Regions from separate parts of the Homo sapiens genome. Here regions 1, 3, 4, 5 and 6 are each linked to region 2. Evidence: promoter capture Hi-C in 16 types of primary human blood cells and fetal thymus (Javierre and others, 2016). All regions are on one chromosome and are shown on one strand. Each heading gives the region's core, a stretch centred on a gene start or on the middle of the fragment in contact. The rest is flanking DNA. Distances are from core to core; before and after follow the strand shown. Region 1 overlaps SS18L2 (SS18 like 2). Region 2 holds the start of EIF1B (eukaryotic translation initiation factor 1B). Region 3 overlaps NKTR (natural killer cell triggering receptor). Region 4 holds the start of OXSR1 (oxidative stress responsive kinase 1). Region 5 overlaps VIPR1 (vasoactive intestinal peptide receptor 1). Region 6 overlaps CCDC13 (coiled-coil domain containing 13).

Region 1 (3,350 bases), core at 546-3,045, 2.3 Mb before region 2:
ATTAAGTATTCTTTAAGTGACTTAAAGGAACATCAACAAAATACAACATGTGAATCTTATTTGGATTCTGGTTCAGACAAATCAACAAAAAGACTATCTGATAACTGAAGAAAATTAAACATCATCTATTATCAGATGATATTAGATAATAATTAGAAATCACTATTCATTTTGTTGGCAATGATAATAGTATTGTTTTTATATACTTTATGGTTAAGTCCTCACAGTTATTCTTGAAAACCAAATGGAATACTTATTACATGAAAACTTCTATACCTCCACATCAGTATTTTATAGAAAAATAAGCTTTATTTCAAAGCAATCTGAAAACAGCAGTCAGGGGGACCACATTTACAAACTGATAGGAAGGAGCACACAGTTACATGTCCATTTAGCAAGGTATCAAGTCAGGAATCTCACCAATTCCTGCCCAACACCTACTGAGTTTCCTCTTCAGGTTGAAACTAAAAAGTAGACTTGAACATCCCAGTGATGTCTTTGTTATCCAAACATGCTCCAAGTTCAGGAAAGAGGACACCTGGGCTCAACTTATTGAGGGATTTGCTTAATTATTTAAAAAATATTTACATGAGAATACAGCTAAGTTAGTAGCTTTCTTCACATTTTCACGTTTCGAAAGAGCCACAGAGGTTTCATTCATGTTTTAACCAGTTGAGTTGGTAAAGACCCTGTCTCCATTTTGTAAGAGATGGATTACATTCAATTACTCCTCACGACAGCCAAATGGAAGATTATTCTATTGCTTTTGAAAGATTATTCCATTGCTTTTGAAGTGCTGGTTGGACTGGCATCTGCAATGGTAGCCAAATAAATGAGATTTCTATGTAACACATGCTGGTACCTATGGGCAAAAAAACAGGCAAAAATCAGAGGCTTGTTTTTACCGACCATGAACAAAAAACTGGAAAATAATTTACCCACTCTAGTGGAATGGCTCATCCACTGACTGGATGATTCAGTGTTATCAACCTTCTTGTTTAACATATTTAAGGAAAATATAGTCAGATTCTCACCCATTCTTACTGATTACTTTCATAGCTACTATCATTTCTTGCTTGAACTATTGCAGTAGACACCTAGTCTCCCAGATCTATCTTTGCGCACCTACTTTATTCTCCACATAACAGCCTGAGAGATTACTGTACAATTTAAATCAAAATCATGTTATATGTCTATTCAAAACCTTCCAAAGGCTCCCATCTCATTCAGGTAAAGGTGAGCTGTTCTTGTGTCCTAATAAGGCCCTACATGATGGGGGCCTCCAGTCCCCCTCTGATCTCACCTCTTATGGCTATACCTTTGTTCACTGAATACTGGCCACAGTGGCCTCCTTCTGTGACTTGAAGATATCCGGCACACTCCTACTAGGGGGCTTTTCCACCTGATGCTTTCTCTGTCTTACTTATCTCACTATGCCTTACTACTGCATAGCTGGCTCCCTTACCCCAGGTCTCTACTCAAATATCACCTTATCAGACATACCATGTATAAAATAGCACTCCTCCCCCCACTTACTCTGCTTTATTCTTATTCAAAGCACTTATTATTATGTGCCTAATTATACATTTCCTTATAGATTCTAGAGTCTAGAATGTCAGCTCTGTGAGTGCAGAGCTGGTATCTGTTTTACTATGGATTTCCCAGAGTCTGAAACAGTGCCTGGTACCAGGAGTACAATTGTCCCTTGGTATCCACAGAGGATTGGTTCCAGGACACCTCCCTCCTCCCCTTAGATATCAAAATCTGAGGATGCTCGAGCTCAAGTCCCTTATAAAAAATGGCATAGTATTTGTATATAACCTACACACAGCCTTCCATATCATATACTTTAATTTATTTATTTATTGAGACGGAGTCTTGCTCTGTCACCCAGGCTAGAGTGCAGTGGCGTGATCTTGGCTCACTGCAACCTCCACCTCCTGGGTTCAAGCAATTCTCCTGCCTCGGCCTCCCAAGTAGCTGGGATTACAGGCACACACCACGCCTGGCTAATTTTTGTATTTTTAGTTTTTAGTAGAGATGGGGTTTTGCCATGTTGGCCAGGCTGGTATTGAACTCCTGACCTCAGATGATCTGCCCGCCTCAGCCTCCCACTGTAATGCCACAGTACTGGGATTACAGGGATGAGCCACCACACCTGGCTCACAGTTTAAATAATCTCTAGATTACTTATAATAACTAATACAACTTAAATGCCATATAAATAGTTGTTATACTGTATTTTTTTTATTGTTGTGTTGCTATTTTTCATTGTTTTGTGCTCCCCAATATTTTTGAAATGCAATGCAGAACCCATGGATACAGAGGACCAACTGTACTTATAAAATATCTGTTCAACAACTTCAAGAAGGGACAAAACATTTTCATGATCAACATAAGTTTACGGTGGGGGGGGTAGAGTTCTTCACCCAAAAAAATAAATCAGACAAGGGCTCAGAAAGCATGGCCTGTGCAATTGAAAAACCCCACTAGGAGATTTTGATAACTTTCTTACCCTTGGGTTGAGAATTACTGTACCAAATGGAATGTTTTGCAACCATTTTTCATATAGAAAAAGGAGAAGGTATTTACCATAAACTTTTAAAAATCAAATTACCAAATGCCAGAGTCAGATGTAAAGATTTACCCAAAAACTGATATCTCTACTATTCTATTAAGGTATTCAGTGAGGGACTGTAGGTAATTTTTCTAGGGGGTAGGGATTGTGAAACATTTCTTCAGTAACAATGAAATAATATATTTTTCTATAAGAAATGGGCATAAGGTCGGCCGTGGTGGCTCATGCCTGTAATTCCAACACTTTGGGAGGTCGAGGTGGGTGGATCATCTGAGGTCAGGAGTTTGAGACCAGTCTGGCCAACATGGTGAAACCCTGTCTCTACTACAAATATAAAAATTAGCAGGGCGTGGTGGCACACGCCTGTAGTCCCAGCTACTCAGAGGCTGAGGCACGAGAATTGCTTGAACCTCAGAGGTGGAGGTTGCAGTGAGCCGAGATTGCACCACTGCACTCCAGCCTGGGTGACAGAGGGAGACTGTCTCAAAAAGAAAAAAAAAAAGAAAAGAAAAAAATGGGCGTAATACCTGGACTAGATTCGGAAAAGAGACTCAGACTCTATTTTCTCTCATTTTGGTATCTACTTAGGGAGTGCATTAAATTATTATGCACAATTTACCTTTGACTTAACTTGTAAATCCTTTGTTTGTCTTTGTGTGTGTGTCACTAACAGACTGACGGGAAGTTAGAAATGAGAGGAAGCTTAGCAGTCAAATGGCCTGACCCCTTCACTTAACAGAGAAAGGATGAGGCAGGGATCCAAGATGAGAAA
Region 2 (3,606 bases), core at 47-2,546:
AACAGTAGTCAGTGTCTTTCTGCCGTTCCGTTGCTGGATTCTTATATGAATGTAATCCTCAGTCCCTGCCGGGAGTAAGTCGTCACCCTTAGTTGCATCAGCAAAGGGGTCTGCGAATGGATAAAAAAAAAAAAAAAATCCAAAGTAGAAAAATATTTTTTAAGAAGTACTTTCCAGAAATACATTATACTACCAATCCAGACAGTCATCAATGAAGGTTCTAGTGCCTTTGCTGTTTTTGCCGGTAGGAATGGAGATGGGGGTGGAGTATTAATAAAACCCCCAAGATACTCTCACAAAAAGAGAAACATTTGAACAGCTATGTCCATTGTAGAAAAACGCTGTTATAGATAAATAATGTTATCGTTCAATATGGTCCTCTAATGAGAAAAAGATTTAGAAAACCTTAATATTGTAGCCGCTATAAAAATGTGCGTCATCTCGATTACATTCTGATGAAAACATAAACATTCGAATACGCCCACCTTAATCATTTAACCGTAACTGTGCCTTGCCAAAAAAAAAGTAGATTACATATATATCAAGAGGCGTAATTTAACAAATTGCTACGCAAGCAGAGAAGACTGAACCACTGGCCAGTGACAGATCAGAGGCTTGCATCCGCATCTTTCCCTAAGTGCCCCCAGGAGCTGCCAGAGAACGGGCGCCGATCCCTGGTTTCCCTGGCCCGGCATACCCTTTGCAAGTAGCAGGGCCGATCTAGGAGTCCACGAAATAGGATCGCCAAGGTTTCAAGGGGCAGAAGCGGAGGCGAGAGCCGGGTCAAGGACGGGGCAGGGGGTGGCGCAGGGCCCGCGGCCGGGGCTCCGAGAGGAGGGCTCGGAGTCCGGCGCTGTCCTCGGGGAAGGGGTCGCCAGGGGCCCCGTCGCCATTTTCTGGGCGCCGAGACAAAGCCCCACTAGGGGTGCGGGAAGGGCAGAAAGGGGGCCCCTAGGGGCGGTGGCCAGGCGGGCAAAAGGCCGAGATGCGCGCCGGGCAAGGGAGGGAGGCGGCGGCGACGGGATCTTACCGAAAGATTGGAGGTTCTGGATAGTGGACATGCGATACTAGTGTGAGGCCGGTGAGGGGATAAAATTCCTGCGGGGCCCGCCCGGATCACCTTGTCAGGAGGCTGTAGTGGCGAGAAAACGGAAATAAATAAGAAAACGCTTCGCCCTGGGGTTGGGATTAGGCTGGAGTGGCGGCGGCGGAAGCCGGGAGGAGGCAGGAAGAGGCGAAGGAGGAGGCGGAGGAAGAGGCGAGGGCGCGAGAGAAGAGGCGGCGCTGCGGCTTCTCGCACAAAATGGCCGATGGAGACTATTTAGCCGCGCCCGCGGCCCCTCCCACGTGACCGTCCCGCGCCGAGCATCCTGGGACTTGTAGTTTTCTGGAGGCAGCAGAGCCCGGAAAGCCTGAGGCCGGGGGCGGCCGAGACCGCAATTCCCGTCACGGAGTGCGTCCTCTAGCGCGGGGCGGAAGACCCGCGAAGTGTTCAAGCGGCCGCAGAGCGGCCCAGAGTTCGCAGGTCTGGGGCTCTCTTCCCAGAGAGCTCGTAGGGGAGGACAGTCAAGGGACTCAAGCGTCTCTCTTGACTCCCCTTCTCTCGCTGTGCAGTGGCGGCGCCGAGGGGTCGACGCTCAGGGCTAATCTCTATGAGTCACCCTCGAGGCCCCGGGTAATGTAAGTAAAATCGGGGTGCAGGAACAAAACAAGTCCCCTTGCTCCGGCTTTCAACTCATTGGCCCCCGCTCAGCAACTACCTGCATTGAAATTCCAACCCCAGTTGCAGGAGCGGTGTTAGTCTCAACCAATACTGGAGATGGGAGCCTCTCTTTCCAGGATTGGACGGACCTCCGATTCCCTAGCACGGTGGATCTCAGACTAAAGCGTGTGTCTCTGGAGGGCTTGAGAAAACACTGATAGACCCCAGAGTTTCTGTTTCAGGAAGTCTAGGGTGTGACCTGAAAATCTGCAATTCTCATAAGCTCCTTGGTGATGCTGATCCTGCCTGCTGGTCTGGGATCAGGCTTGAGAATCACTGCCCAGCTTAATCCTGGGCCTGGCATCGAGTGGGGGCCAGGTGTGTATGAACAGAAGATACCAGAAAATCAGCTTGTCAGCTCATTTTGTGTGCCTCAGAAGGCCCAACAGAGAATTCAGGAAAGATGCCAGGTATAAGCTGAAGGTGAGCTCAGCAAATAGGTTAATTGATGGAGTCATGTACCAGACCGTAATATCTTCCTATCAGGTCACGCACAGAAAAATAAACCCGAGACTTTGGGAATTGGCTCACTCAGGCAGGTGTGTTCAATTGTCAAACTTGGTTGGCTTTCTGGAAGCAAAGAGATAGACTAAAATTTAGGGATTCTTAACTTTTTTGTGTGTGCCATGGCAATCCTGTGAAGCTGCTGAATCCCTTCTCAGAATAATGAGAAGTTAAGTTTTAAGTTCACAAAGTACATAGGATTACAAAGGAAACCAATTATATTGAAATTTAAAAAATACATTAATAACGTGTATTTCTTTATTAATACACTAATAAGATCTAGCAAGATTAGGTCTAATACTATAATTTCAAAAAGCTGATAAATGTAAGAGATATTTTGTGATGTCCGTAACATCAGAAATTTAATATGAAAGTATGTGTAACTTCTGTTGGTGCGAAGTGACAGGTCCTTCTATCACTATGATGTTGCCTTTATTCATAATGGAAAGAAATGGTAAATTTTGCTTAGAGGTTAATGAAAATGCAGATATAATCTTTCCCCATCCAATTTTAGGGATCTCCACCCCTGCAGTTTTATCCATGAGCCAAGGATCTGCAGACCGCAGGTTAAGAATACCTGGATTTGACAATCTTTTGTAATTAACAATGATGATAAGTGCCATTTATTTAGTACTTACTGTTTGCCTGTTACAAAGCTTATATATAACATTATTAATCTTCATAGCTATTTTATAAGGTAAGCATTACTCTATGCACCAGGTGTGGAAATGAAGGCTTTTGTAGGTTAATGCCTGAAAAAAAAATCAAATTCTTAACTCTCAGAAATCTAACCACATTTGTGGTCTTCCAGCTCTGGTTCAAATGGAAAACACTCTTCGTATCCCAAATTGAGGTGTAAAGTTTAGAGCTGGCTCCAAAACAAGGAGCATCAAAATATCTAAATAAGTGTGCTTTAAAGTAATTTTATTAGTTCAATTTTGTGCCCTATGTTAATACTCTAACACTCTAATTTCTAAATAATTTGTAATCTAGATAATGCATCTCTATTTGTTTCCTTTCTTTCTTAGTAGATGTACATGAGTATTTTATATTACTTTATTTCTCAGAAGAAGCCAAAGGTGATCCAGTGAAGAAAAAACTACAAACACAGAGAAATTAAAAGAAAAATTCCAGAAATCTTAGGGTTTCATGGTCATTACCCCTGTCAGGAGAACTCACTTTTCTTAGATTTAGTGTTTGCATCAGAAACCTTCAGGAGTGAGAAAAAAAAAAAAAAAGAAAGAAAAAAGAAACCCCCAGGAGCTCAGAAATCTTTAATCAAAGCCAATATGAATACAGATTAGATACAGTTGTGGTTCTTAAGGCTCTTCTAACTCTCA
Region 3 (3,532 bases), core at 975-3,474, 2.3 Mb before region 2:
GTGCCTAAGTTTCAAGAAGCTCACATCTTGGCTAGGAATGACACATGGAAATGCAGCTGCTACACAATATGAGCTATCATTAGTATGAACTAAGGGCACTTATATATAACCTAGGTCTGACTGTTGTGTGTGACCGCAGAGAGATAGGGACCATGACTGCTTTACTTACCACTATATCCCCAGAGACTTACGTAGTGCCTGGTACAGTTAGGTGCTCAATAAATATTTAATAATAATAATACTCAAAACAAAATTATTCAAAGACAGATTTACAAAATACTTTCATAAATGAAGGAACACCCAAATATACAGATTAAAATTATTCACTACATACCAGGAAAAAATATGTAAGTGGAGCAACACCAAGATATCAATTAATAAAGCTATTTAGTTTTGGAGACATAAATGGAAAAAAAAGCCTCCTAGTATCCAGGCAGTAGAATCATATCGTTCACAAAGAAAAAAGAAAGAAGACCAGCTTCAGACACCTTATATTACAAACTGGAGACAACTGAGCACAGTCTACCATTTTTAAGGAATAGGCTGTGAAACAAGAATTCTATACCTAGCAAAGGAAATACATTTTATCCTGAAATATCTATTTGAATACATATCCCTGAGATATAAGTCAAAAAATTAATGAATGAGAACTAGTAGGAAGAGTGGCATTGGGCACTGAATATATTACATTACAAAATTAAACCTAAATCACTATAATTATGGTTTTAAAATAAAAGGAAATGAGGCCGGATGTTAGAGCTGCCAGGTATGACAATGCAAACAGTGTTAATTATGGTTTTAAATGTTATCAGTATTAGGAAACAAAGTTATGTAATGGCAAAATTTTTTTTATGTACCATCTGAAAATGTTCTTTCTTTTGAATAGGAAATGTTCTCATGACTCAAAAATCAGTGGAAAAAGGTACAGGATGAGAAGCCTTGTTTCCCAACCCTATCAACAGGTACTCACTTTCATTAATTTTCTGTGTATTTTTCCAGTTTCTTTTCATACACAAGCAAATATTGATAAATTCTTATTTTTCTTCCTTTAAAAAATGGTAGATTATGCACACTGTACTGCACCTTGCTCTACTAACATATCATGAACTTTTCTCATGCCTGTGATATAAAAATAATGTATTTTATTTTTTAAGAGACAGAGTCTCGCTCTGTTCCCCAGGTTGTAGTGCAACGGCACAACCTCTGCTCACTGCATCCTCAACCTCTTGGGCTCAAGCAATCCTCCTGCCTCAGCCTCCTGAATAGATGGGAACATAGGAGCATGCCACCATGCTTGGCTAATTTTTGTATTTTTTGTTGAGACAAGGTCTCACTATGTTGCCCAGGGTAAAAATAATTTCAGTTGGAGGAAGGCAGTGGAGAATCAATAAAAACCAACAAGGATTTGGACTGGTGAAAGAAAATACGCATCCTCATACTTCATAGTGGGAATCAATAGGTAGACTTTTCTGAAGCAGAGAGGAAATAAGGGTTTAGGCATACATTTTTTTTTTTTTTTTTGAGACAGAGTCTCACTCTGTCACCCAGGCTGGAGTGCAGTGGCACGATCTTGGCTCACTGCAATCTCCGCCTCCTGGGTTCAAGCAATTCTCCTGCCTCAGCCTCCCGAGTAGCTAGGATTATAGACACCTACCACTATGCCCAGCTAATTTTTTGTATTTTTAGTAGAGATGGGGTTTCACCATGTTGGCCAGGCTTGTCTTGAACTCCTAACCTTGTGATTTGCCCGCCTCGACCTCCCAGAGTGCTGGGATTACAGGCCACCATGCCCAGCCAAGGGTTTAAGCATACTTAAACAGGTATTCACAAGTAGAACTAACAATATTTTACATCTTTCAAGCTTCTTTGGTGGGAGGGGCAGCAACCTAGTAAAAGATATAAAACAAAGGAAATAGCCAGAAAAACATAAAATATAAGGCCGAAACAACTTAATTATTTAGCCACATGAAGCTTTTTCCATGACATGTCCATAAACACCCAGCTAAAGGTTTCCTGCAGATAGTACAAGCAAAAACTCAAAAGAGAACATATTTACTGGCTCATGTAGTTATGATGAGGATATTAGTGCAGATCAGAGAATCAAAGGGCCAGGATGTCAGGAAATGAGGTCAGATGTTAGAGCTGCCAGGTCTGACAATGCAAAAAGTGTTAAATACCACTTATTTATCCTGATCACTGCATATAGTCATAAATATTTTCATTAATGAATAAAACTAAAGATAAATTAATCACTTAGGAAGATAAAAGGAAGAATACCAAAATTTAGAAAAAAGAATTATAAGATAGTATACAGATAAAAAACAGGCCCAATAAAGAAACTAAAATGCTGCTAACTATCCAAAAGAGTGCTGCTATTAATTCTTTAGATATAGATGAATTACTTCTAATCTTCAAGTAACATTAAAGTGTAACACTATATCAACTGTTCTAGAGCACAGCAAAAGATGAAAAGCTTAATTTTTTTGAAACAAAATAAAATCGAAACCAAAGCCTGGGAGAGATGATATAAAACAAATTTAAAACCCCATATGCCAATCTCATTTTAAAAGAGACACTATTCAACATTAGGAAATCTACTAATATAGTTTATTGAAGTGAAGGAAAAATCCTATAAAAATCCCATGATAGAAAAAAAAAATCCCACGATAGAAACCAAAAGTGCACGGTGAAATTCAACATTCATATCTACTACAGAAACAACAAAATAAATTTTAAAAAAGAAAAATATAAATTAAAAAAAAGAAATTCAACATTCATTCCTTTATATGACACACATATTCTCAGATATTTTTCAAATCAACAATCAGCATTATCGTTAATGGTGAAACACTCCTGTAGCATTAATTCCAGTGAAGCAGGAAACAAGTCAAAAGTAGTTGTTAGCATCACTACTGTTTAATGCTCTTTCAGAAATTCTAGTCAATGTAGGCTAGGCGTGGTAGCTCACGCCTATAATCCCAGCACTTTGGGAGGCGGTGGGGGGCGCGGATCACCTGAGGTCGGGAGTTCGAGACCAGCCTGACCAACATGGAGAAACCCCGTCTCTACTAAAAATACAAAATTAGCGGGTGTGGTGGCTCACTCCTGTAATCCCAGCTACTCGGGAGGCTGAGGCAGGAGAATCGCTTGAACGCAGGAGGCAGAGGTTGCAGTGAGCCGAGATTGCACCATTTTGCACTCCAGCCTGGGCAACAAGAGCGAAACTCTGTCTCAAAAAAAAAGGAAATTCTAGTCAATGTAAGTAGATAAGAGGACAATAGGAGAGATTTACAAGTAAAAAAGAGCATATTTATCACCATTTGAAACATTAGCTATACACCTAGAAAGCCCAAAAGAACCAACTGAAATACCAACAGATACTGAAGTTGTTGATATTTATATTATGACAAACAAGAACTAGTAGAACAAAATACAGTAAAAATCACATTCTCAAAAACAACAAGAAACATTCTACCTACATAACCATAAGAGTATAGGATCTATAAAAACAAAACTCCAACTTTGAGAGGCA
Region 4 (3,545 bases), core at 238-2,737, 2.1 Mb after region 2:
TCAAGGCCACTGCATCTCTATATCCCTCTGTAAGGAAAAATCTTCCCGAGGCTCTTAATCCTCACTTCTCATGCTTCAGGGCTCAACTGAAATGTTATCGCCTCAGAAAAAGAATTTTCCTTGAAATCACCCTAAGTAGATCTCCAGGTTATTCTCTATCAGAACATCTTGTTTATCTCCTTCATGGCACTTGCCAAAGCCTCTTCAAATTTTTTTTTTTTTTTTTTTTTTTTTGAGTCAGAGTCAGGGTTTGTCGCCCAGGCTGGAGTGCAGTGGCGCGATCTCAGCTCACTGCAAGCTCCGCCTCCCGGGTTCAAGGATTCTTCTGCCTCAGCCTCCCGAGTAGCTGGGATTACAGGCGCGCACCACCACACCCAACTAATTTTTGTATTTTTAGTAGAGACGGGGTTTCACCATATTGGCCAGGCTGGTCTCGAACCCCCGACCTCGTGATCCGCCCGCCTCGGCCTCCCAAAGTGGTGGGATTACAGGCGTGAGCCACCACGCCCAGCCCTTCTTACTTCTTTTTGTCTTCTTATTTAATGTCTACCTCCCCGACTGGAAAGTCAGTTGGAAGGAGTCGTAAGTTGGGTCTCGGTTGCTCAGCGCGGTTCCTGCAGCTTCACCTGGAGGATCCCCAGTTCGCCCCAGCACGGATGGAGGAAAAACTTAAAGCTCCCTATCTATCCCACAATCCCAGAAATCGATGGCTGTGCCCACTTCAAGATCCCATTTCTCACACAGCCTCGGAAAGGCCTGTCCCACACCTGCACTTTCTTTCTCTACAAGACACATGGGCCGCTCCTGTCCACACATTTGAGAATCCTGTACACAAATCTCTCCTGAGCCCCCTCAAGCCTCACCCCACCCCACGCCACCTCACAGGCGCGCGCCTCAAAACCCCCTTCCCGTCTCACACGCGCTCCTCGACACAAGCGTCCTACAAGCCCCCAGCCCCACAAGCGCCCCACGAATTCCTATGAGGGCTGCGCTCCCCGAGCTCCCGCGGCTCCCCACGTTCCCGTGTCCCCCGCCTCCCAGCGCCGCGCCTCCCCCCTCCGCAGCGCCTGCTCTCACCGATCACCTCCTGCAGCTCGTAATCGTCCCTGTTGATGGACCAGGGCAGGGCGCTCGAGTCCTCGGACATGACGGCGGCAGCGGCTCGCGGTCCTCCCTCAAACTCGCTGACCTCGCTCGTCTCCTCGCCGCGCGTCTCCCCACCCCCAACAGCCGCCGCCGCCGCCGCCGCGCCCCCACCAATCGTCTCGGAACAGCCACGGGTCGGACGGCGCCGGGGCGCGGGGTCACCGCGCGGCAGAGCAGCGGGGGCTCAGAGCTCCGGCGGACCTCGCCTCCTGCTCCTCCGAGTCCGGCACTGCCCGGCCCAGCCCACGTCCTGTCCTCGGCCTCCGCAGCAGCAGCGACAGAAGCTTTGCCTGGGCCCAGCCCCTCTGTCCCGCCCTCCACCCCAGCCCCACGCACGGGCCAAACTTTCCCCTCTTCCTCCACCTGCCGACACGCAGCGCGCTGACGTCACTGCGCTGGTCACGCCCCACCTCGGGCCCGCCTCCGGCCGCCATCTCCAGTGTGGCTGGATGTAAAGTGAGCAAGCTAGAAACCCGAGAAGGTAGGAGTTCGCGGTGAAAGGGAAGAAGTGCTTAGGTAGAGGTTCATCGAAGGCATCGAAAAGCCGTAGGAGAGCCTCAAGTAGCACAGAGGCAGTAGCCACACTAAGCATGGCGACCAAAGGGCAGCAAAGTAGAAGGGGCAGAGCCACTTCTAGCGCCTGGGGCACGCTGCTGTCTCCGTCGTCGCATTCATTGGTTTGTTTGAGAAGGAATCAGAAAAGCAATGGGTGTGGGTAGACGTCAGTCATAAATTGGTCCCGCCTCCAGGCTCTTAGCGCGCTTCTCCGTGTTAGGGCTGCAGCCCTTCAAGAGCTCCGTTACCGCGCTCGTCTTACCACTTCCTCTGGAGTGACGTCACGGCGTAACCGTCACACCCTCGAGACGTGCGAAAGGCTCTACAGGGTGTGGAGAAACCCTGAGGGAGCGGCTGGGTGGGGTAGCCTTTGGGTGTGGACCACTGCCAACTAGGATAAAAGGCCTTGGGCCACTGGTCGGAGTGAAACTGGAAGTTTGCCTGGTGACATTTTTTTCAAGGCGGACGTTCTCTCTAACGCTTGTCGCGGCGCTGTCTCTCGCGGGTCCACCCTGCACTGGGCGGGTTCTGTCCATTCGCAGCTTTAGATCTGAAGCTCAAATAAGCACCTGCCTTGAGGGACTCGGGAGGTTGTCTTTCTTCCCCCCGGACAGGGCTTGGGGTATTAAACAAGTGAGATCGACCCACGGATTTGGGGGTTGTCTCACGGGCGTTGGCTTTTGTCGCCCCCACTGAACAGTTTTCTCAGTTTGACTACGTACGGCCGTTAGAGAAATTAGCGAGCTGAAGACTGAACACGCTTGGTAAATTGGATTTTAAAAAATAATGAGCATCCAACAGGGATAGGGCTAGGTGCGAAACTGTTCTAGGTTGGACACCTTTCAGTCCAACGGCAGTCTTTAAGGAAGAGACCTTAGGCCGGGTGCGGTGGCTCACGCCTGTAATCCCAACACTTTGGGAGGCGGAGGCGGGCGGACCACCTGAGGTCAGGAGTTCGAGACCATCCTGACCAACATGGTGAAACTCCCTCTCTACTAAAATACAGAAAAATCGCTGGGCGTGGTGGCTGGCGCCTGTAATCCCAGCTACTAGGGAGGCTGAAGCAGGAGGCGAAGGTTGCAGTGACCCGAGAGCATGCCACTGCACTCCAGTCTGGGCAACAGACGGAGACACCGTCTCAGAAAAAGGAAGAGACCTTCACCTAGGCCCAGCTGAGACGGAGCAGGGACCCCTTTTAGGGCCTGCAGGCCCTCAACCATGGAAATAAAGGAAAATCTTGAGTTACTTCAAGAGAAATTCCCGGCACTTAGCTAGCCTTGAAAAGTTAATGAACCCCTTGATAAGCAAGAGGGCAGTAATAACTTTAAACATTAGCCAAAGAAACTAAAATAACTGGATGTTTGGTTCCCTATAAAAACTAAAGATAACATCAACACATGTCCCTGAGTTGTTTTTTAGAAACCCAGACCCCCACCAAATGGATCTGCTGGCACATAGACCTCAGAGAATGGGGAGCTAAGGACTGAACTCTGACTGGTGGTTTGTTTTTTCTCTAAGTTTCTTCTTCCTGAAGAAGGTCATGCCCACAAGCTGTAGCTAACATTCTTTTCTACTGATCCGAAATTTTTAGACAAAGCTTCACCTCTTTTATCAATCGCAAATCAGAAAATCTTTGAATCCACCTATGACCTGTGGGCTCCTGCTTGGAGATGTCCCCCCTTTTTAGGTCAAACCAATGTATAACCTCTGTGTATTGATTTATGACTTTACCTGTAACTTCTTCTTTTCCGAAATTACCCCTATCTTTAAGAATGCTTGGCTGGGCGCGGTGGCTCACGCCAGGAAGTTTAGGTCCCCAGTATGTATTTCATAAGTTTATGAAA
Region 5 (3,318 bases), core at 639-3,138, 2.2 Mb before region 2:
CTCATTCCTGTTGAGGGCTCTCTGGTGGAGCCTCTGTCTCACAGGTCACCTGCAGGCCAACACTCCCAGAAGCAGCTAGCACCATGGTTGACCTCGTCCAGGTCCAGGGAAGGCCTCCCTCTCCAGGACTCCTTTAGATTTCCCCAGCATCCAGACCTCACCTGCCTAAGTGCTGTTGCCCTGGAAGCCACAGTGAGCACGAGCTCCATCTTGCACCTTTACCAGCCAATGGGGGTAAAGACATTAGCTGGTAAGTCATTTAAAACTTATTGAAAGTAACACAGTTGTGTGATGGAGCATGATACAGTTACTCGTATAACTGTTAAAAGATAGGAGACTTCAAGGAAACTGTCTGTGGTTCCTCTTTGGGGTCATGTGCTTTCTCTCCTTCCCATAAGGGTTACTCAGGCTGAAATGCTCAAGACACTCTGTCTCAAGGGATTTGTGGCTGTTTCATCCTCAAGTATAGGGGGAATAGTGGCCAGGAAGATCTCAGAGGTGGCTTCTGGAAGAGGAATCTGGGTACTGGCTACCCTGCCTTGTGTCCCATCATTGGTCTGTCTTGCCTGTCTTGGAGCACATTTCTCACCAAGGTACCATCCCAACCCCATCTCCCACCAGCAACAGGGTTCTTTCTGCTTTCTGGCCCCTTCCCAGCGTCTCCTGATTCTCCTGTCCATTCTTATCTCTCATAACACTGTAACGTCAAAACAGGATGGATGGTAGCAGATATCTCTTGTTTCTGCCTTCCACCATCCTTTACTCTCTTCTGGTGCCATGTCCTCATCTGTGTCTGGGAAACAACCTCCTTCCCTACCTCTAGTTCATGGAGTTCTGATGAACCCTCTTCCAGGGGATTGACATGTGACCAAGGCTTAAGTCCATCAGAGCATTCCTGGCCACAGTGCCTGACACATGGCCTGAGTCAGGCTACTCAGAGCCAGGAGGCTCACTCCTGGGACTTTGGATTAAGTGATTAAGAAAGTGAATTTGGTTTTTCCCCACTGGACTGGAAACCTTAAAGGAAGCAAGGGCTCAAGCTTCTGCTGTCTTCTTGTTGACAAGTGGAACACACGGATAAAAACTATACAGCTGAAGGCAGAATAGAGAGATGGAGAAAAATCAGGTTCTCTTAATATTGTCTGGGTCTGTGAATGCAGCCATGCCTGAAACCAGCTCTACTGCTAGCAACATGAGCTGATGCCTTTCCTTTATGGCTTGGATCAGTTGAGTTTTCTGTTGGTCGCTGTAAACAAAAGTGTCCAGCCTTGCCCTCTGAGGACAAGATAATGGACGCCCTCACTTTCTGGGCCTTCTTAAGCCAGGACTGTGGCCATATAGTTTGCCAAGAAATATTTGTTTCCCAATCACCATGGGCGCCTAGGATTTCTGGCAGCTTCTGCTTGCGACTCTCTGAGGGTAGAAGAGTGTTGGGTCAACTTCTCCAGCCAACTCTGCCCCCTCAGCAGCACAGACACACAGCCCTTCCTTAGAGGCAGTTTGGAGAGAAAGGAGGGGTGGGTACCGAAGCCTGTGGTGTTTATGAAACAGTGGGTGTGGTCTGGAAGATGAGCTCTCTCTTTGTCACAATTTAGTTTAGTGTTGAGCCCTATCTGGGGAGGGGTAGAGGAAATGGAGACCCAAAGAGGGACCTGAGGTCACCCAGCAAATGCGCATTCCCAGATGGGACCTAAGTCTCTGACCGCTGGTCTGGACTGCATCAATCCTTCAACACAGCCTCGCCTTGGACCCTCTGGTCAACCATTGCCCTTTGAGGGACCGGGCCAGGGCAGCTCCCTCTAGTCCTTATCACTAAGGAATTCAGGCAGACTTTGGACTTCCTCTCCCACTTATTTATTTCCCTATTCTAAACATCCTCATTATCCCTCTGGACTTCAGGAACACAGAGAGAGTTGAAAAATTCCCTGGCTGAATATAGCCAAGTCTACTGATGTCAGGGAAGTGTTCCAGGGTGGGATATAGCTGGAGTCTGGGCTTCCTACAGAATGGGTATGCTGTACTCATTCTGTAGAGGTAGGTCATGGAGGATGTGCAAGTTAGACAATTAGAAGTGGAGTAAGAGCACCCCAGAAAGTAGAGCAGCGTGTGCACAGGCATGGAGGCATGAAAATGCCTAATACATGCAAGGCTGTGAGAAGCCTGGTGTAGCTGCAGCAAGGAGTTCTGGGGGCATCAGGAGACAAGTTGAGAGATGTAGACTGGGGTAGGATTGGGAAGGGCCTGGAATGCCAGTTTTCAAGTGTGAGCTTTCACTCCTAGGCCATGGGGGCCAACAGAGACTTGAAGCAGGAGACTGAGGATGGGGGATACACATTTTACAAAGATCCCTCAGGTTGCAGGTGGTGGGGCTGAAAGCTACTGCACCAGTCCAGGCAGGAACTGATGAAGCCTGGGCAGGACAGTGGGTATAAAGAGAGGGCACAGAGAGGAGGGGGCAGGTGGAATGAACAAGACTTGGTTAGTCCCTGTCTCCAACTAGACTCAGGATTCTCCTGCCAACTCCCTGTCATTCACCTCCCACATCCCGCTAGCCCCATGGCAGAGGACAGAAGAAGACCAGGATGGAGAAGATGCTGTGGACTTCTTCAGTCTTCTTCAGCCTGGGTCCCTTCTGGGCTTAGGAACTCCTGCCCCAAAGAAGGTGCTGAGAGCCCAGCCTGGACCAAAACTCTCTAGCCTCAGCTCAACGGCAGGGTCAGGCTGCCTTTAAGCTTACTTTTTGGAGCTCAGTCAAGCATAGGAATTGGTGAGGGGCTAGAGAGAAAGCCCTGCTTTTTCCTGTCCATGTGGGGTTCTCTGAGATCTGGAGCAAAGGCTAGGTGTGGTGATGGGGGTATGGGTGAAGATGCTGGGAGTTGTAGCTGTTAGATGCAAGGGGCTCTGAAAGACAGGGTGGGCCATGCTCAGGTTCGTAGGCCATGTTCAATCCCCTCAAGGGAAGCCTGAGACCACAGCTACTGCCTCGAATCAGAAGCCCCAGCCTCATCATCTGGGGCCAGAGAACTAGGGCAGGAGGAGCCAAGTAGCACAGCAGGAAGCATGAGTCCCTCCGAGGAGAAGCTGGTCTCTGAGAGGAGCACAGAATGCAGCAGGCTGGATAAGGTGAGGCAGGAGAAAGAACTGTCTGCAAATTGCCAAGCATGCAGAGCCTCCATGGATGATTTGTGCTTCTGAGGTTTGTCAAGAGGGCTATTTTATTTTTTTCCAGCCTGCAACTGTTAATGGAGGCAGGGGAATGGGGAGTAGAGGACAGGGGGCTCAGGAGTGGTTTCATTTACCCTCTCCCACATGACCCTA
Region 6 (3,703 bases), core at 580-3,079, 2.5 Mb before region 2:
TCTCTCCCCAGACAGCCTCTCAGAGTGCTTAACACCTCTCATTCTCAAACCAGCTGAACGTTAGGCTCACCTGGGAAGCTTTAAAAATACAAAAATGTTAGCTGGGCGTAGTGGTGCATGCCTGTAGTCCCAGCTACTCGGGAGGCTGAGGCAGGAGAATCGCTTGAACCCAGGAGATGGAGGTTGCTGTGAGCCGAGATCGTGCCATTGCACTCCAGCCTGGGCAACGAGAGTGAAACTCCATCTCAAAAAAATAAAAATAAAAATAGACACCCTGGCCACAGCCCAGATAATTAATTTCAAATCTCCACTGGCCTCATGAATAGCACAGATTAGATACTAATACTCTGGGGGCCGGTCTGGACCACAGGTGTCCTCTCAGTGCAGGCATTACTGTCTATCCCAGAGGCTCCGTTGGGCCAAGAGCACCACTTTTCATACAGTGATAATGATAATTATTTCCATGCATTCTTCCACTTAATCTCACAAACTCCCTGTGAAGTTCGTAAGTATCAGAGTCCCATTTTACAAATGGGAAACGAAAGCAAAGAGGTTAAGTAATTTGCCTGGGGCACAGTGTACATTCAATGAGTACCAGTTCCTCAGTGACTTCAAGTGCAAATTGGGAGTAGAAAAGGAGAAAAGCTTTACAAGTTACTGTGTTCATTCATTCAGTGACAATTCTACAAATGACAGTTGAAGGCCTGTTCTGGGCAAGATGTTGAGATTTAGCAAATGAATAAGGTATTAGGACCCCTGCCCTTAAGAGGTCTCTTTGTAAAGGGAAGTAATGTAAATAAAATAATAGATAATTATAATACACTGAGGTTAAGTTTAGTGATCAAGGGGTGCCCTAGGGATTCTGGGAGTCCACAGAGTGCCCTGAGGGGAATCCTAGAGGCTAACTGGGAGTTAGTGGGAAGGTAAAGGGCTGGGATGGGGAGGCCTGGGAGGAAGGCCTCCCAGGTAGAGGAGTGGCTGAAGCCAGCCTCTGAGATGCCACTGGGCTTAATCCACAGCAGGAGCCACAAACCCAAAACATCTGCTGTGGCTGATGGGAAATAAAAGTGAATCCAGCAGGTTTAAGAGAAAGAACAACATTTATGTGCAGTGATAATGGGCAGCTGATGTGCCAGCTGCAGCATCTGGAGGTGGCAGGGACAGTGGTTTAATGGAAAGAACCTATTATGCACCAAAGGAACTCTCTGCATAGCAGCTGCTGTCCGTGTGGGACGATGGGCCCAGCATTGCCAGATCTGTAAACTTTTATAAAAGAAGCTGGTGTAAACTAAACATAAAATTCAGAGGCCCCCCATCCATCTGAATGGACTTCCTTCTCAGCCAGGGCACTCCAAAGTTAACCTGAAAGACCAGTTCAGGCCTTGATGGGAAGCAAGGGTTGGACACGCCTCATTATACCCTCCTCCCTTTTGGAATTCAGGAAAAGTTGACCAACATTTAACATCAACACAGACCTTAAGTCTGATAAGAAACATTTACAATCTATTCTCTCTGAAGCCTGCTACCTGGAGGCTTCATTTGCATGATCAAAACTTTTATCTCTTTTATTCTAACCCAGATATTCCTTTCTATTTATAGTAACTCTTTTAACCAATTACCAATCAGAAAAATTTTAAATCTACTTATCACCTGGAAGCTCCCCCCTCCCAACCTTGGAGTTGTCCTGCTTTTCTGGACCAAATCGGTATATATCTTAAATGTATTTGATTGATGTCTCAGGTCTGCCTGAAATGTATAAAACCAAGCTGTGCCCTGACCACCTTGGGCACGTGGTCTCAGGATCTCCTGAGGGCTGTGTCACAGGCCATGATCACTCACATTTGGCTCAGAATAAATCTCTTCAGACTGGGTGCAGTGGCTCACACCTGTGATCCCAGCACTTTGGGAGGCTGAGGTGGGTGGATCACTTGAGATCAGGAGTTCAAGACCAGCCTGGCCAACATGGTGAAACCATGTCTCTACAAAAACATACAAAAATTATCTGGGTGTGGTGGTGCATGCCTGTAGTCCCAGCAACTCAGAAGGCTGAGGCAGGAGAATTGCTTGAGCCCAGGAGGCAGAGGTTGCAGTGAGCCAAGATTGTGCCACTGCGCTCCAGCCTGGGTGACAGAGCGAGACTTCATCTAAAAAAAAAAAAAAAAAAAAGTACATCTCTTCAAATATTTTACAGAGTTTGACTGTTTTTGTTGACACTGGAAATCTGATATTGAAACTACAATTCTTTGAATGTTGGCAACAAATTCAAATCCTAACATAGTGTTCTGTAAGAGCCAAACAAAAATGTCTGTGGGATGTGTTAAACTAACTGTAGCCTAAAGCTGCCTTCTTATATATTCTAAGTTCAGCCTAAAGGTTTCTCTGTACGTAGTAAACTGTAACCTGACTAGGAATTTAAACAGACTGCAATCTACTCTTGTACCAGTCACAGAGTTTCAGCCAATCACAGGCAGCCAGCTATTCAAATTGTATTCAAAAAAGGCAAACAGCCAGCTGTAATCAGTCTAGCTGTTTCTGTACCTCACTTGTGCTTTCTGTTCATCACTTTCCTTTTTCTGTTCATAAATCTTTTTCGACTAGGTGGCAGCCCTGGAGTCACTCTGAATCTGTTCTGGTTCTGGGGGCTGCTAGATTTGTGAATCATTCTTTGCTCAGTTGAATTCTGTTAAATTTGATTTGTTTAAAGTTTTTCTTTTTTTATTTTGGAGACAGGGTCTGACTGTCACCCAGGTTAGAGTGCAGTGGCGCGATCACAGCTCATTGTAGTCTCAACCTCCTGGGCTCAAGCTGTGCTTCCACCTTGGCCTTCCAAAGTGCTGGGATTACAGGTGTGAGCCATCATGCCTGGCCTAACGTTTATCTTTTAACAAAGGATATAGCCTTTGGGCCAGCTATTATACTCACATGTATTGTTTATTACAATGAAAGAATACGGGTCAAAATCAGCAAAGAGACACATAGGGCAGAGTCCAGGAGACACCAGGTGCAAGCTTCCAGTTGTCTTCTCCCAGTGGAGTCATGTTGACAGTACTTACTTCTCCCAGAAACAATTCGTGGCAACTTACATGGAGTACTGCCAGCCAGGGAAGCTCCCCTGAGTCTTGGTGTCCAGGGTTTTTATTAGGAGATGGTTACGTAGGTACAGTTGACCTTAGTCACTCGATCTCCAGCCCCCTCCAGCCTACCCTGCACCTGGCAATGAATCACATTGTTAATTAACATGGACTGGAATGGCCCAAGGTCCCCAGGTGAAGAAAAACACTCTCATCAGGAAGGATGGTCCAAGGGCTCAGAGATTCTCTCTTAGGAGCGGGTCAAAGGCCAAACATGTTTTTTGGAATGTGCGGGTGTGCACAATACAGGTTTTCAGAGTTAATTCTTTATAGTTCCTCTTACTGGGCAGAGCTGCCTGGTAAGGAATTTCAACATAACACCAGCTTCTGCTTTTGTTTGACCTTTGCCAAACCCTGGGCTCAGCCCACAGCACATTAAAACCAGCTGGGCAGCAGTTAAACCATCCCATGCTTGGTCTCCACTCCAGACTAATTTAAATCAGATTCTCTAGGGGTGGGCCTGGTTATCAGCATTTTTAGATTGTATCCTGGGGATTTGGTATTGAAGCAAGTTTAAGAGTAACTGGGTACAGGCTCTGGGACCACCCCTGTGTGTGAGATGGAGATAAGTA

What was found. The method cuts DNA at HindIII sites, captures the fragments that hold promoters and counts their contacts. A CHiCAGO score of 5 or more calls a contact.
Region 1: a contact is called between a fragment that was not itself captured here and the fragment with the promoter of EIF1B in region 2, in 3 of 17 cell types (neutrophils, naive B cells and total B cells). The highest score is 9.3, in neutrophils.
Region 3: a contact is called between a fragment that was not itself captured here and the fragment with the promoter of EIF1B in region 2, in 1 of 17 cell types (total B cells). The highest score is 6.9, in total B cells.
Region 4: a contact is called between the fragment with the promoter of OXSR1 here and the fragment with the promoter of EIF1B in region 2, in 2 of 17 cell types (total B cells and naive B cells). The highest score is 7.6, in total B cells.
Region 5: a fragment that was not itself captured here is called in contact with the fragment with the promoter of EIF1B in region 2 in 1 of 17 cell types (monocytes); the score reaches 5.8 in monocytes.
Region 6: a contact is called between a fragment that was not itself captured here and the fragment with the promoter of EIF1B in region 2, in 1 of 17 cell types (monocytes). The highest score is 9.0, in monocytes.

The regions. Positions count from the first base shown.
Region 1 is chr3:42,591,934-42,595,283 of GRCh38, reverse strand. SS18L2 (SS18 like 2) reads right to left here. Exons shown (of 3, transcript NM_001370300.1): 3 at 1-862. The coding sequence ends at 775. It also overlaps a transcript of SEC22C not described here. Among named protein-coding and RNA genes, the nearest start is that of SS18L2, 2.7 kb to the right of the region's middle. The HindIII fragment of the contact is 2,974 bases long and covers 309-3,282 here.
Region 2 is chr3:40,307,397-40,311,002 of GRCh38, reverse strand. EIF1B (eukaryotic translation initiation factor 1B) reads right to left here and starts at 1,296. Exons shown (of 4, transcript NM_005875.3): 1 at 1,031-1,296; 2 at 1-110. The coding sequence starts at 1,061. It overlaps EIF1B-AS1 (EIF1B antisense RNA 1), which reads left to right and starts at 1,305. Exons shown (of 3, transcript NR_033965.1): 1 at 1,305-1,680. LOC124906228 (a long non-coding RNA gene) reads left to right here and starts at 2,192. Exons shown (of 2, transcript XR_007095876.1): 1 at 2,192-3,606. RefSeq lists a silencer at 886-935 and an enhancer at 1,206-1,565. The HindIII fragment of the contact is 2,965 bases long and covers 1-2,924 here.
Region 3 is chr3:42,609,722-42,613,253 of GRCh38, reverse strand. All of the region lies in intron 2 of NKTR (natural killer cell triggering receptor), which reads right to left. ZBTB47-AS1 (ZBTB47 and NKTR antisense RNA 1) reads left to right here. Exons shown (of 3, transcript NR_125400.1): 3 at 887-944. Among named protein-coding and RNA genes, the nearest start is that of NKTR, 11 kb to the right of the region's middle. The HindIII fragment of the contact is 502 bases long and covers 1,974-2,475 here.
Region 4 is chr3:38,163,479-38,167,023 of GRCh38, reverse strand. It overlaps OXSR1 (oxidative stress responsive kinase 1), which reads right to left and starts at 1,487. Exons shown (of 18, transcript NM_005109.3): 1 at 1,078-1,487. The coding sequence starts at 1,147. LOC101928234 (a long non-coding RNA gene) reads left to right here and starts at 1,548. Exons shown (of 5, transcript XR_940733.2): 1 at 1,548-1,627. RefSeq lists silencers at 993-1,042, 1,093-1,482 and enhancers at 714-1,329, 1,723-1,822, 2,093-2,222, 2,373-2,452, 1,613-2,812. The HindIII fragment of the contact is 1,868 bases long and covers 1,433-3,300 here.
Region 5 is chr3:42,508,990-42,512,307 of GRCh38, reverse strand. The region is part of intron 1 of VIPR1 (vasoactive intestinal peptide receptor 1); the gene reads right to left. Among named protein-coding and RNA genes, the nearest start is that of VIPR1, 8.0 kb to the right of the region's middle. The HindIII fragment of the contact is 1,692 bases long and covers 1,043-2,734 here.
Region 6 is chr3:42,761,967-42,765,669 of GRCh38, reverse strand. The region is part of intron 1 of CCDC13 (coiled-coil domain containing 13); the gene reads left to right. Among named protein-coding and RNA genes, the nearest start is that of CCDC13-AS2, 6.8 kb to the left of the region's middle. The HindIII fragment of the contact is 2,363 bases long and covers 648-3,010 here.